2 separate regions of the Homo sapiens genome follow, and region 1 is linked to region 2. The links are contacts of gene promoters, found by promoter capture Hi-C in blood cells and fetal thymus (Javierre and others, 2016). All regions are on one chromosome and are shown on one strand. Each heading gives the region's core, a stretch centred on a gene start or on the middle of the fragment in contact. The rest is flanking DNA. Distances are from core to core; before and after follow the strand shown.

Evidence for each region. Contacts are between HindIII fragments. The CHiCAGO score rates a contact against its expected background, and 5 or more counts as called.
Region 1: a fragment that was not itself captured here is called in contact with the fragment with the promoter of TGM7 in region 2 in 1 of 17 cell types (erythroblasts); the score reaches 6.1 in erythroblasts.

Annotation. Positions count from the first base shown.
Region 1 is chr15:42,681,311-42,684,713 of GRCh38, reverse strand. It overlaps STARD9 (StAR related lipid transfer domain containing 9), which reads right to left. Exons shown (of 33, transcript NM_020759.3): 21 at 3,102-3,292; 22 at 2,139-2,610; 23 at 1-598. Among named protein-coding and RNA genes, the nearest start is that of CDAN1, 54 kb to the left of the region's middle. The HindIII fragment of the contact is 2,280 bases long and covers 851-3,130 here.
Region 2 is chr15:43,300,518-43,303,585 of GRCh38, reverse strand. TGM7 (transglutaminase 7) reads left to right here and starts at 1,331. Exons shown (of 13, transcript NM_052955.3): 1 at 1,331-1,345. The coding sequence starts at 1,336. The HindIII fragment of the contact is 1,629 bases long and covers 1,038-2,666 here.

The DNA.
Region 1 (3,403 bases), core at 741-3,240, 620 kb after region 2:
CTGATGCCTTTTTGATGCCCTGCTTGGAGAAGGTGGTTTGTATTCTGTCCAAAAAGTCTTGACTGCCTTTCCGTGCCCAGCAGTCTGCCTGGGTCCATGAGGATACAAGGAATTGCAACTGGCTCCCTTAGCAGCCTTGTGGGTCCCAAGGTTCCCTTCTTTTCGCCACCCAGCTTGTGTGTGGCTAGGGTCTGCTAGTCCCTTCGCCCCTCTGGTCTGGGTAGTAGAGGTGAAGATCTTTGGCTCATGCCTTGGCTTTAGTTTGTTAGCTGATTTCCTCAGAGATGCTAAGCCCTGGCTCACCATCTGATGGGGCTGCTTAACCCCCATCTCCATTTCCTGGATGCCAACAGAGTTGGGACTCATGGTGAGGCAAGCGTCTGGAGCTGAGGCTCCCTTCCTGGCCAAGGCTGCTCTGGCTGTGCAGGGCTGCCCATGACCTGAGGAATGCAGGCCGTTCTTGCGGAGGCACCCTGTCCTTGCAGGGTAGGAAGCAGCCTGTGGCAAATGCTCTTCTGATGATGTTTTCTCTGATGTTTGGTGTGTAGGGTCAGGCCTAGGTGGCAATGTGGTAGAGGGATCCCAACTTAGGAAAATGCTGTGAAGACAAGGAAAGCTATCTCAGAAGATGTGAGAGGTACTACTTCCTGTGGACAGAAGGAGGTTAAAAACAAGGCCAGTGTCACTGTCTCCTATAGACTTCAGACCCAGAGAAAAGCTCTCCAGGTATAAAAGGAAATTGTGGACTCTAGTCCTAGTTCTCCAAGAGGCTCCAGGCCCACTCTGTTCCTCAATTTCTTCATCTTGTTAAAAAACTGAACTGAAGCTAATCACACTTGTAGGGAAAGCTTCCTATTAATAGGCAATATGAGGAATAGAGGAACAATTTAAATGGTATTATGAGGAACCAAAAGATAAATCTATAGAGTGATACATATTCTACAGAACTATAATTATCAATAAAAAGAAATAAAAATAATGATTACAAATAAAACAAGAAGAATGATTAAAAGAAACCTGAGAAACAACAAACAAATGCAGTGTGTAAATCCTACTTGGATCTTGATTTGAAAAACCAACGGTTTCAATGCTGAACCATGTTAGAGAAAAAAGAGAGAGAAAAAAGAAAACTGTAAATAGTTTTGGGCAGCAGAGAAATTTGAATATGGCCTAGGTTTTAGAATACATCAAATAATCTTAATTTTGGTAGCTGTCACAATAACATTGTGGTTACAAGAAAAGTCCATTTTTTTTTAGAAGTATATACTTAGAAATGTAGAACTAAAGTGACATGGTGTCTAGAAATTGCTTTAAAAAACTTCAGAAAATGGGAAGGTAGGCAAGTGTGTAAAACCTAATAATTGCTGAATAATATCAGTGATACATGTACTATTCTTCCAACTTGGCATATGTTTAAAATTTTTTCATAATAAAGTTTTTTTAAAAAGCCCACCTGGTACTTTGAAGACCAGAGAGGTGAGCAAACACAACACTAACAGACGTTAATTGTGAACGTCCTATGGACAAGAACCTGTGCTAGGTCCTGAGGATACAAAGAGGTATAAGACACAAACCCTTGCTCCAAGGAGTCTGGGAGATAATACAGCCCTGCCTTGATGGCATGTAAGAAGTAATGGAGAAAAGAAACAAGGAAGGTCCCAACTTGAACCTGGGAGTCAAAAAGATAGCTCAGTCACCAGGTGGGAGGTGGGGTGAGAAAGCTCACTTGATGTGGCAGGTCGAGGAGGGAGAGGGAGGGAGGTGGTGTAGGAGTCAAGAAGTCTGGTTACAGGCATGACAAGATTGAGGTGTGACATACAAGGAAACGTATATGGATAGCCCAGGTCTAAGGAACAGACGAAAAGTGAGGCCGAGATCCTTACTCCTAAGATGTTACCAAAGAAGCAAGAATTGCTACTCAGGGGGTAAGGAAGATGGGAAAGGCCTGAATCTAAAACGATATACACAGAAAGAAGAGTAACCAGAAGATGGAAAAAGTCATGAGGAAGAGAGAAATATACACATTCTTCCATTTCACAGACTGAGGAAATGAGGCATGGGGAAAAACAGAAAACTACCTGGGCAAGAAGGTTGTAAACTTTAACCGAGTGCTTCCCAGTGACAACTACTGGCTGTACCTGTGTAGCTGGGGCATGTGCTTGCTGCAGAGTCTTTGGGGGCTCAAAGAACTGCAACTCGTCAATTTGCTTCTACATGGAGGCCGTGGGACTGTGGCATCAGGGCTGAGGACCTGGTATGGGGGCTCCTGGGTGCTGTCATCCTGGAGCCAGCACAATGTCGTGAGCTTCTCCAGTCTCTTCTGGGCCTCCAGCAGCCTCTGCTTTTTGATGATTCTCTCTAGCTGGAATGAGACCTTTTTCCGCCGGACATTCCGCTCTGCTGCCCGAAGAGTGTGTCTCCGCAGGAGCTGCAGGTGCACCACCCTTTTCTGACTTTGGACAAATGGGGATGGCTGAATCTCAGGATCTGTCTGAAGCCAAGCATCAAGTGCCACAGATGCCTCAAGTTCTTTCTCTGCTACCTGGTCTTCTTGCTGCTGCTGTTGCAAGCTGGCCAGCCAGGTCTCTTCTCTGAGCAGACACTGCTGGTCTGGGAACCAAAAACACCCAGAGAGAATTTCAGCATCTCCTTCCCTGCTTGTGGCTGCCTGGACTCAGATACCTCCAGCCATGGCTGGACCTGTGTGGAGTGAAAGAGCTGGCCAAGGTGATGTGGCAGGGTGAGGGCTGCAGGGCTACAGGGCTCCCTTACCACAAGGTAAGGGAATGAAGACCCTCAGGACTCAGCACAGCAGTGGGCACGTGCTAGGGCAGGCGGTAGGGTATGGATACATGACCAAATGAGGAGCAGTAAGTAGGAGGTCCGTAATTCTGAGGACAATAAGGAAATTAGCGTCCTTATTCTTGCTTCCAGCCCTCTTCTTATAAGAATCTCTGGTGTCTAAAAGAAAAGAGAACACCTAATACCAAAGATTCCATCATATCACAAAGAAAACAAAAGAGAGAATACAGAAGGCTGAGGAAGCATGAAAATGAAAGAATAAGGAGGTGAGGCAGACACATTAAGTGGTGGACACCTACTTTCTTTAATCTGCTGGCTAATCCAAGCTTGGTCAAATTCCAGTTCCTTCGCAGCTCGAATCTCTTCTGCTAGGATTTGATGCCTCAAATCCTCTACGTAGCTCTGCTGCTGCTGAATCTGGGCCCTGTGGGATGTCTCTCCATCCCTCGGTGTCTGATGGTCCTCGTCACATTGCTCTTCAAGCGCTCTCCTGTCACAGAAGCGGCTGAGGTTACCCAAGGGGAAATGCAAACCAAGCTCAGGACAAACTGATAGCAGTGTAAGGCCTTCCAAGAGAGCCCCTGCAATCAACAGGGTAGAG
Region 2 (3,068 bases), core at 82-2,581:
CTCTCCTTAAACTTTGAATCTGGGAAACACATACACACATGTCTGGATCTCCTGCCATGATCTTCCTATTCTTTTTCTTTCTTTCTCTTTAAAAAAAAGTGTTTTTTTCTCCCTAATTAAAAACATCTTACACTCCCACTGTGGAATTTTTAAAAAATTCAGTAAAATATAAAAAAGAAAGCACATTCACAATCTCACTGCTCTTAGCCACAGTTTGTTATATTTTCTTCTATCTTTTAAAAATGGGTCTATCTGCATAAATAATATTTTTTACACTGTTAAACTACACTGTTTTTTAAAAAATTATTTTATTTTTAATTAACATGTAATAGTGTACATATTTATGAGGTACAGAGTGACATTCTGATGTATTTTGATACATGTATACAATGTATAATGATCAAATCAGGGTAATCAGAATATCCATCATCTCAAACATTGATCATTTCTTTGTGTTGGGAACACTCAAAAACCTCTCTTCCAGTTATTCGAAAATATGCAATAAATTCGTATTAAATATAGTCACGCTGCAGTGTTATAGAACACTAGAACCTAGTTTTCCTATCTAGCTGTAATTTTGTATCCCTTAACCAACCTCTATCCCTGCTCCCACCCACCCTTCCCAGCCTCTAAGCACCACGACTCTGCTCTCTGCTTCTCTGATCTCAACTTCTTCAGGTCCCACATATGAGTGAGAACAACTGCACTGTTTTCCTATTCTACTTTTTCCTTCCAGTTAATATCACATTATGGGCATTTTTCCTTGTCACTGGAAACTTTGTCAACTTCATTTTTAATCAGCAGCATTAATAATTCAGTATTTCAGTGTGCTTTATTTTTCTTCAAGATGCAAAGCTCCCTGGGTCCTGATGGGCTGTGCAAATCTTTCTTCATGACTCTTTCTATGACCTTCCTCATAGCTCTTTCTTACCCAACACCCATATGGTCAGGGGAAGCCAGACCGAACTGGCTTAGATCGAATCGGGTCCCAGGCCTTGAAGTGACAGAGGCACAAGGGAACAGCTTCAAGCCAAGCTTTGCCATTCACATCACTTGTGAGTCTTCTCAGCTCAAAAAGGAGGCCACAGAAACAAATCCCTCAGCACATTTTTACAAGGCTTAAGTCAGAAGCTCCCTTCCTTAAGCCAAGATGTACCTGGAACAACGGGAAATTTAAGAGGAGGAGTGGGAGGAGGAGGAAGTGGCAGCCCCGCCCGACTCAGGGATGGAAGGGAAGGTTCTAGTAGGGTGACTGTAAATGCTCAAGAGGCAATTAGGTCTCGAATCGTACTGGTGACTAGTTGAAGGGCCTTGACCGACAGGAGAAGGAGGGAGATGGATCAGGGTGAGTACTGGGAATCGACTTACCTTTTCGGAGGTGCTAAGTCAAGAGAGGGGAGAAGTTTGGAGAGGGTAGAGGATGTAGGGAAGCGACAGGAGAGCCTGGATTGATGATTGGTAGTTCATTGTGCAATACGGCTCCTTCTTCTTACTTCTCCATCTGCATTTGGACCTTGGGGCACAAATCCTACAGCCATTCGTTTTCTTTTCTGAAGCTGTGAACAGCCTTTTCTTTAAAACCTGGGGGGCTGAAATGGCCTTGGGAAGTCTGAGGAGCCCCAAAAAGAGCTTGGCCCCTGCCACCAGGTGTCCTTGGGTGCTTGGGAGGCTATTTCTATGGCCAACTCTGAAGCTGTGGGAGGACCCCTCTCAGACCCTAGACCTCTCCCTTGTCCAGCTTCTCCCCTGACTCTCAGGTCCTCACTGAGAGTTGCTGCCCCCACCCCTGAGTTCAGGCCCCTTTTTCGATCCCTTCAGAACCCTGCCACTCCTCTCCTGGGAGTGAGAAGAACAGGCCCCCGCAGGCTGGGCCAGCCTGGCCAACACATGCGGCCTGCCAGGGAGGGCACTAAACATGGGTCATGTATTTCTTTTCTTTTTCTTTTTTTTTTTTTTGAGATGGAGTCTCCCTTTGTAGCCCAGGCTGGAGTGCAATGGCGCGATCTCGGCTCACTGCATCCTCTGCCTCCTGAGTTCAAGGGATTCTCCTACCTCAGCCTCCTGAGTAGCTGGGATTACAGGTGCCTGCCACCATACACGGCTAATTTTTGTATTTTTAGTAGAGGTGGGGTTTCGCCATGTTGGCCAGGCTGGTCTTGAACTCCTGACCTCAGGTGACCCACCCACCTTGGCCTCCCAAAGTGCTGGGATTACAGGCATGAGCCACCACACGCGGCCATGTATGTCTTAAAATAATGTTCTAAAGCATGTATCATGTTCTAATGGCCAGGCACTGTGTCTCACACTGGGCGTGGTGGCACAGGCCTGTAATCCCAGCACTTTGGGAGGCCAAGGCAAGCGGGTCGCTTGAGCTGAGGAGTTCGAGACCAGCCTGTCCAACATAGTGAAATACTGTCTCTACTAAAAATACAAAAATTAGCCGGGTATGGTGGCACAAGTCTGTAGTTCCAGCTACTTGGAGGGCTGAGGCGGGAGGACTGCATGAGCCTGGGGGGGTCAAAGCTGCATTGAGCTGAGATTGCGCCACTGCACTCCGGCCTGGGAGAAAAAGTGAGATCCTGTCTCAAACAAACACAAAATAAAAATAGAGATATAAATGGTTTTTAAATGCAAGACAGAGTTTGACAGAGAAGGCTCAAGAAGCTTGTCACGTGCTAGATTCCAGGGTACTTTAGTGCTAGAGTTTAGCATATCTTTTCCCCTTGGCTATCACCAACTAGAATAAGTCTAAAACAGTTATATATATACACATATATTTTTGAGACGGAGTCTTGCTCTATTGCCCAGGCTGGATGGAGTGCAGTGGCGCAATCTCGGTTCACTGCAAGCTCCGCCTCCAGGGTTCACGCCATTCTCCTGCCTCAGCCTCCCGAGTAGCTGGGACTACAGGCGCCCGCTACCACGCCTGGCTAATTTTTTGTATTTTTAGTAGAGACAGGGTTTCACTACGTTGGCCAGGATGGTCTTGATCTCTTGACCTCGTGATCCACCCGCCTCAGCCTCCCAAAGTGCTGGGATTACAGGCGTGAGCCACCGCGCCCGGCCTT